2 separate regions of the Homo sapiens genome follow, and region 1 is linked to region 2. Evidence: promoter capture Hi-C in human tissues and cell types (Jung and others, 2019). All regions are on one chromosome and are shown on one strand. The core of a region is centred on a gene start or on the middle of the fragment in contact, and the rest is flanking DNA. Distances in the headings are between cores, read along the strand shown. Region 1 overlaps DCC (DCC netrin 1 receptor). Region 2 holds the start of DCC (DCC netrin 1 receptor).

What was found. The method cuts DNA at HindIII sites, captures the fragments that hold promoters and counts their contacts. A contact is called where the count stands out against the background at its distance.
Region 1: a fragment that was not itself captured here is called in contact with the fragment with the promoter of DCC in region 2 in 1 of the 25 tissues and cell types used here (stomach).

Annotation. Positions count from the first base shown.
Region 1 is chr18:52,536,845-52,540,790 of GRCh38, forward strand. All of the region lies in intron 1 of DCC (DCC netrin 1 receptor), which reads left to right. Among named protein-coding and RNA genes, the nearest start is that of DCC, 200 kb to the left of the region's middle. The HindIII fragment of the contact is 6,333 bases long and covers 1-3,946 here.
Region 2 is chr18:52,338,813-52,342,896 of GRCh38, forward strand. It overlaps DCC (DCC netrin 1 receptor), which reads left to right and starts at 1,385. Exons shown (of 29, transcript NM_005215.4): 1 at 1,385-2,066. The coding sequence starts at 1,976. The HindIII fragment of the contact is 11,241 bases long and covers 1-4,084 here.

The sequences.
Region 1 (3,946 bases), core at 442-2,941, 200 kb after region 2:
GCAGAGAAGTTTGGATCTTTTAAAATGATCTCTTTAAAGTTCTGTATTGTGGCCAATTATATTCTTTCTGAGAACCAGTTTAGTTATTATTTTCTTCATGGAAGGTTTAGACTCAGTGCAGTGCCTTTTTTATTTTAATCATCCTTAAAGAAATAGAAAATGTTAATAAGAGAGTGCAGGGAGCTAGTGCTGTTAAAGTGGCAGGCTATTGGATTTGATTATTTTTGTACCAGAGAGTTTAATTGTGAACTCTGATTTTTCTTCATCTGTTTGATGATGAAAGTTCTCTCTAGGTCCTTATCTTATCATGAGTAAAACATCTCACATCTAGAGGACAAACAGAAACTGAAAACAATAAGTTGCTGTGCTTTTGCTTCAGGAAATAAATAAATAAATGCAGTAATAAGTTAACAAATGGATAAAGTAATATTTAAAATCTCCTTTATGATATATTTAGACTTGGGCTGCAAAACATAAACAAGAAACTGTTGGGAAGAATTTTGAAATTATTAGCTTTCATAGGTTCTAAAATTAGGCTGTTGTGGGATGGGTTTTTGGAAATTAAGCTTTTTCAAAATGATGTTTTCCATTCAATGTTGGAAAGTAAACACAGCGCCTGTTGAGGCTGCTGCCTGGAGGCAAACACATAGTTAGCTGAAATCCTCCTGGATATAAATATCTCCTGGGATTTCTAACTTGGAGGCTTAAAATTACAGTCTAGGGGAGGCAGCTACAGTCCACAGCATGTACACATTTTTGGACCTCCTATAGCCAGCTTGTCTCACCAACTATTACAAGCAGAAAAAAAAGAAAACAATGACGACGAATGAAAGGAAATAACACAAAGAGAACAAAGATGCAGATTCCAAGAGAAAATGGCATATGGCTCTTCACTGTCTGTCAATGCAGAGTATTTAACGACCATTGAGAGATTGTAATTATGCCTCATGCCACTTGTCTAAAGCCAGCCAATGATGTCCCCATGTTTTATATCTCCCCCCATACCTTAAAGTCCTATTTTGCCTCTCTGATCAAGTACAGCTCTTTTCCATGATTACTAGAATTTTCTGTCTTCTGCCCTTCCCTGCAGGATTAATTTTTCTTGCCTATAATTCAAATGTTACACTTTTTGTTTAGGCTCTAGCTGTGGCTACCTAACAGAACTTCCTACCCTGGATTCCACCTGTGCATGAACCATCACAAAGAGGATCTTTCTAAAACATTCCATTCCAGCATGTAAACAACTGTTGGATTTGGCACCTCATCCATCCTCAGCTTGGCATCAGACCTCTACACCTGTATCCCAATCTTCCTCCGAAGTCTCCCAGTAGTCTTGCCTGCTTACCTCCAACTACCATCACACAACTTGGGGCTCTGAAATTTAATAGCTTTCTGCTGCCTTTCTGCCTTCTTCACAGTACTAAGTCAACCTCAACTTTCCAAAAAATTATTTCTATCCTTTTAAAATCCTACCTATTGTAACATTCTCTTCTCTCCTCCAACCCACTGCAATTTATTTTTACTTCTCTGAACATCATAATATATTACTGTTACAGTAAGACAATACACACACATAACCACACAAACGCTTTCACTAATATCTATAAACTCTTTCCTGATGTACCCTGTTCAAACTTTATTTCTTTCTTTTCTAGTCTGGCCACATTTTGTCTCTATTATTTAGTACATAATAAATCCTGCCTTATTATTTGGTAGGTTTTGTCTATCTCCTTCCATTCCTCCTTGCTCCAGACTGGATACAGTTCAGGATACCATGTGAATCTTCCTTATCTTCCTATCTCCAGTAGCCCTTTCACAGGGCCAGCCTTGCTATCCTAACACCTCTTCAGAGAGCTGTGTCCCTACTACAGTGTCCTGCTTTTCTTAATATAATTTTCTCTCTAGTGTTTTCTTACAAACATGTTTTTTTTTCTTTTAACCTTGATTGCAAATTCTTCTGCAGCAGAAGTTATCTGTTCTCCTTTTGTACTTTCCCACAGAGCTGTACAAAATATCAGCCACAAAGTAGAATTTGAATACAGTGTATGAAATGAATAAATAAATGAATGAGTGAATAATGTGTGGTGGATGACATGGCCTCGGTACTGAGGTTGGTTAGCTGGTCTGAGGCTGATAGACATGTGAGTAAAAATAATAAAATTAGCCTCTTGTTCTTTCCAGATGGAAAGGAGTCTGGTTGCAGTGATTACATGTTAATCAGCAATTTGGGTTTGGATGTTTGTTAGAACATGAACTGGCATTGGGATTTCATTGTCTCTGAGTCAATGTACATTTTGAGTTTCTTCTTCAATTCAAGATTTTGTGGGGCTTAATTTAAACTGTAGTTAACTTGGAACCATAGAGAGATATTTTAAGATTTAATGAATTTCTAGGTAAAGTTCTCAGAGTTACTGAATGAAATATCCTCTACCAAGATCTAAGAGGGAGTTCAAGGTAAATCCATGAAAAAAAAAATAAGCTTGATTCAAGATTTACAGGAGATCTATTGTTCCAGGAGTCCCCAAACCCCCAGGCCGTGGACTAGTATTGGTCCATGGCATGTTAAGAACTGAGCCACACAGCAGGAGGTGAGTGCAGGCCAGTGAGCATTACCACCTGAGCTCCGCCTCCTCTCAGATCAGTGGCAGCATTAGATTCTCATAGGAGTACAACCCCTATTGTGAACTGCACATGCAAGGGATCCAGGTTGAGTGCATCTTATGAGAATCTAATGCCTGATGAGCTGAAGTGGAACGGTTTCATCCTGAATCCATGCCCCCGGCCCATCCCATGGAAAAAATTGTCTTCCATGAAGCCAGTCTCTGGTACCAATTATATTTGGAACTGCTGTATTATACAACATAATGATGTAGTTAATAACAATGTATTCTGGAAAATTGCTTAGAGAGTAGACTTTGAGTATTCTCACCACAAAAACAGGATAACTATGCAAGATAATACATGTATTAGTTAGCTCAATTTAGCCATTCCACAAAACATGTTATACATGATAAATATGTATAAATTTTATTTGTCAATTAAAAATAAACAACAACAACAAAAAAACCCACAAAATTTAGGTATCACTAGGTAAAGATCAGTGGGAAATCCTGCTAATTCCAGTAGAATTGGAATTCTGAAAGCTGTATTCATGTTTTTCTGGTTGTGCCATGTGATGTTCAGTGGCATTATCTTGATACAGTAGAATGATTCCTAGATCATATCTCAATGTTGGGTTTTTTCATTTTCTTTAAATGTACACTCTAGGACATTAATATCTCTCTGGATATCAAAACTTTATCATTGCTTGGCCTGGAGCAGTGTCTTATGCCCATAATCCAAGCACCTTGGGAGGCTGAGGCCAGATAATTGCTTAAGGCCAGGAGTTAGAAACCATCCTGGGCAATATAGCAAGGCCTTGTCTCTAAAAAAAATTTTTTTAAATAATGATGTGCACCTGTAGTCATAGCTACTTGGGAGACTAAGGTGGGAGGGTCACTTGAGCCCAAGAGTTTGAGGCTACAGTGAGCTATGATGGCATCACTGTACTCTAGCCCCAGTGACAGAGCAAGACCCTGACTCAAAAAAAAACCATATTTTAAAAATTATTGTCCCTTTTTATTGACATTGCTTTGTCTTTTGTTTAAAAGTCATTCAATTTTAGTGGCATCAAAGCATTTGATATTCAGTATAGTTACTGTTATTTCTCGAAATAAATGTGTTATTCACTACCGTTAGGTGTATTCAACTGCCTTTTTTTTTTTTTTTTTTTTTTTTTTTGAGACTGAGTCTTGCTCTTTCGCCCAAGCCGGAGTGCAGTGGCGCTATCTCGGCTCACTGCAAGCTCCACCTCCCGGGTTCATGCCATTCTCCTGCCTCAGCCTCCTGTGTAGCTGGGACTACAGGCGCCCGCCACCACGCCCAGCTAATTTTTTGTATTTTTAGT
Region 2 (4,084 bases), core at 135-2,634:
GGGATCTAAAACACTGTTGTCCAGTTCCAGCATCATAGGAGTTTCCCTGATGATGATTTTATCCTGGATTTTTCATGCTTTCCCTCACGCCTTTCTTCTTAAATAGATGTTCACATTCTCTCTGCTCACAGCCTGGTGAGCATGGGAGGGTGACAAGAACAGGTGGGGAAGAATCTAGTAAGGAATGGTCTGAATCCACAGCTGAACATCTCCTTAAACGACAGAATTTTACCAGAATGACATTTCTATTCATTATCCTTCCCGGCCAAATTAATTGGTTTGTAAGTTCACTTATTCTGCAGAAACGTATTGGCATGTGCAGAATTCCAAGTTCTATGCTAGCATCTGTGAGGAGTGCAAAAATGGATGGCATACAACCTCTCTCTTCTCAAAGGAGCTTGAGTTCCCGCAGCAGAGACAAGTTATGCAAAGGAACTCAGCTTAAAACAGTTTCCTGAAAGGGCTTTACTGTTCACCCTTCCTAAGTTTCCTGCTGTGTGTGTGCTTGTGTGTGTGTGCACACACACGCGTGTGTATGGTTGCTTCACTTTATCTGCCAGGGACTGGAGAAATGTCTCTCTTGTTTTCCCAGAGCACCCCCTCCATTACGTGAACCATCATATTTATCACGATACTTTATAATTATCCATTTAGCTTCTCTCCTGACGGATCACAAACCCCTTGAGGATAGAGACTGAGTCTCACTGGATGTCCCAACTATTTCCTGGGAGCCAACAGAACACCTGGAACATGATAAGTGCTTTTAAATATGTTAAAGAAAACAATTGCGAGAGAAGAGAGAACACAGACGACATGAGACGTCCTACAAAAGGAGGCCCCTTAGCTATTATGTCAGGAAATAACTCTGGCCTTTGTCCTGTCCGCTGTGTGTTTCAGGATCTCGATTTCCCTCCCGTCCTAGAAGGGAGTTGGATCAGGTGATTCTTTCCAAATGAAAAATTGTATTTTAAATAATGCCAAGGGCAGAGAAGGAAGTAAACATCCTGGCCACCTCCTCCGCCTTAAACGCCCGCCTAGGTTTTACAGTCAAATACCAATAATTTCCTGAAGGCTGAGTGTCAAACACGGTCGCTGCAAAACCTCCAGACGCTCAGGATGTTCGCAGGCTCCATTGACAAAAGTGACTTCCCACGCTTTGCCCACAGAGGGCATCCCTGCGCATTGATACGCAGACCAGGCAAATGCAGCTCCTGGAAGCCTCCTCGGTCCGCTCTTTTTTCCCTAAGCCATAGTCTGTCTGCCCCCACCCCCTTCCCGTGGAATCTTTGCCTGATCCAGTTCGTTTCCCTCCGGTCTCCACATTTTCCCTTCCAGCCCTCCACTTCTCCGGATCAATGTGTAGTACGGTTCCAACTCCCAGCTCGCACACCGCTGGCGGACACCCCAGTAACAAGTGAGAGCGCTCCACCCCGCAGTCCCCCCCGCCTCTCCTCCCTGGGTCCCCTCGGCTCTCGGAAGAAAAACCAACAGCATCTCCAGCTCTCGCGCGGAATTGTCTCTTCAACTTTACCCAACCGACGACAAGGAACCAGCCTCAACCTTTTAATGCACAGCCCGGCCACAGGATTGCCTTCCATCTCCTCTTGGTCCCTCCTGGATGTGGTTTATTGATGACTTGCGAGCCCCTCAGAGAGCTGTCTTCCCTCCTCTGGCTCCCTCCGTTTCCTTGAGTTAGTTTTCTAAGGTTTTACCGGGGCTCGGGATCTCTTGGACCGAATGGAACTTTTTGCTGCCTGCTTTTGCTGCTGATTCTGTCAGTGGACAAGGAAAAAGGCTTCGAAGGCAGCAGAGGCGCAGGGGAGGTGGAGAAAGAGGTGGAGGAAGAGGACGAGGAGGAGGAGGAAGCCGAAGGGGCTCGGCGCGTGTGTGTGCATGTGTGCATGCGTGTGTGAGTGCATGTGTGTGAGTGCTGCCGCTGCCCGCGACCCCTGGCCCCGAAGGTGTTGGCTGAAATATGGAGAATAGTCTTAGATGTGTTTGGGTACCCAAGCTGGCTTTTGTACTCTTCGGAGCTTCCTTGTTCAGCGCGCATCTTCAAGTAACCGGTAAGTGGCTCTTTCCTTTCTTCTCGTCGCACCCCCTTCCGTACCCCACTTCCCTTCTCATTTCATTTGGCGAGTAGTAGAATTGGGGTGGGGGATAGCAAGAGATTTGGCGCTTGCGCTGCCCCCATTTGCGCACCGATGATAAAAGATAGAAGAGTTTTTTTCTTCCCTGGGGGCGGATGATGGTGGGGGGGTGGTACAAGGGGCGCCCCTTCGCTGTTTTAAAATCTGATGCTTCACGCATTTTTGCTTCTGCAAATACTTGGGTTGGTTTGGAGAGCCGGCGGGCTGGGGCAGGTGCTGGGGATATCGTTGAAAGGAACTGGGCTGGGTCCTTAAAGCCCCAGAAACCTACCAAGTGGGGAGGATTGGGGCAACAGGAGCAGGCGAGGAGGACATCCAGGGGCTTTGAGGAAGTCTGCGCAGAATGTAGATGGTGGGGCTGAGTCGTTGGTGTGTGAATACATCTCCTTTTGGTTTGGATTTTTGGACTTGGTGATTGAGAATAGGGAAAGGGACAGCTAATATGTTTTGGTACTTCCAAGGAGGGGATCCTGGTACTGAAGGAGGCACAGAGTTGCCAAGGAGGAGGGGAGGTGTGTTTAATATTGTTTTATTTTTTAACGGTGAATGTAGTTCGCAAGCTGAGTCTCCATATAGCTCCAGGACACCTCCAAACTCCAAGTGATTGATATTCCAGAGAACCGGCGCCCTGACCCTGGCACTTGCCTAGCTCAGTTTCTAATTAAAAATGGCAAAACTGTTTGGGGATTGGATCTGGCTAGTGCAGGAGAAAGAGGGACCTGGAGGCTGGCTGATCAGGACTGCTGTAATCTCCGAATACGGAGCTGGCGGCTTCGACGGCCAAAAGAATAGAAAAGAGCAAAATGACTCATGATAAGGTCCACTTGTTTTGCGGGACCTCACCGCAAGTGTAGATGGGCACTGGGGTACAGTGAGCGGTCCTGGCAAAGAAGGAGAGGAGAGCGGCTGGATGAGCATTCAGAGAGCCCTTCGGAAACGACCTTTTTCCAAATCCAAAGGAAAAACAGGCTCAGGCAGAGACCGGGCGTTGAGTAGGAGCTCCCCAGTTCGTGCCTGGGAAATTAACAGGGAATGGCACATCAATCGCGGCCAAGCCCCCAGCCTCCCCGGAGTCCGCAGCTCCGGCTTTCTCTTCTCTGCTAAGTGCTGCATGGCCAAGGGTTGCGAACGCGAGCAGAAAATGCGCCTCTCACTGTCGCGAGGGATTCAGACAGTCAAGCGCCAAGGCAGCCCGAGGCTCCCCAAAGCCTCGCTCGGCCGCACGCGGGCAGGAATCTGCGCTTGCACTCGGGCTCAGCTCCTCATCTTCCTTTGGCCAGAGACAGAGAGAGCAGGCAGGAGGGGTGTGTGTGTGTGCGTGTGTGTGTGTGTGTGTGTGCACGCGCGCTGTCCTGTGATGAGCGCGTACCCGCATCCCCGCGCTTAGCCGCTGGTGCTCCCTCCCTCCGTCTGTCCCTCCCGGGCCGGTCCCCTCCTCCCCTGGCTCTTCTCTCCCGGAGCTTTGTCCTCAACAATTACTCTCGCAAAAGGTGGGTGGGGGTGGGGGGGTGGGCATCTCCACAGTAATGAATAGGTGTCTGTTTTAAATTGCCTCCTCGAGACCCTCAAATGCTAGAGGCTGCGGGGAGGAGGACCCTCCTTCTGCCCAGAAGATTGACTTGGGCTTTCTATAGCAGTTTGGGAGACCTATGCGGACGGGAAAGGGGAAGTTCAGGGGGCATCCCTTACTGGGTAGAAAGTCTGCCTAACAGCAGCACTGCTGACCTGAAATGTGCTAGCTGAATGCACTGCATGAAGCAAGGTGTACAAAAATGAACAATGATGTCTTGTCAATTACACGACAGTATTTTAAAGCTATTACTCAAGTGACTTTTGTCTGGCATAGGGTGGGGGTAGATTAATAGAGATAAATTTATGTGCGTTTTATTAATGTCTAAATTAATTAAATATTCTCTTTGCATTTATTTACATTT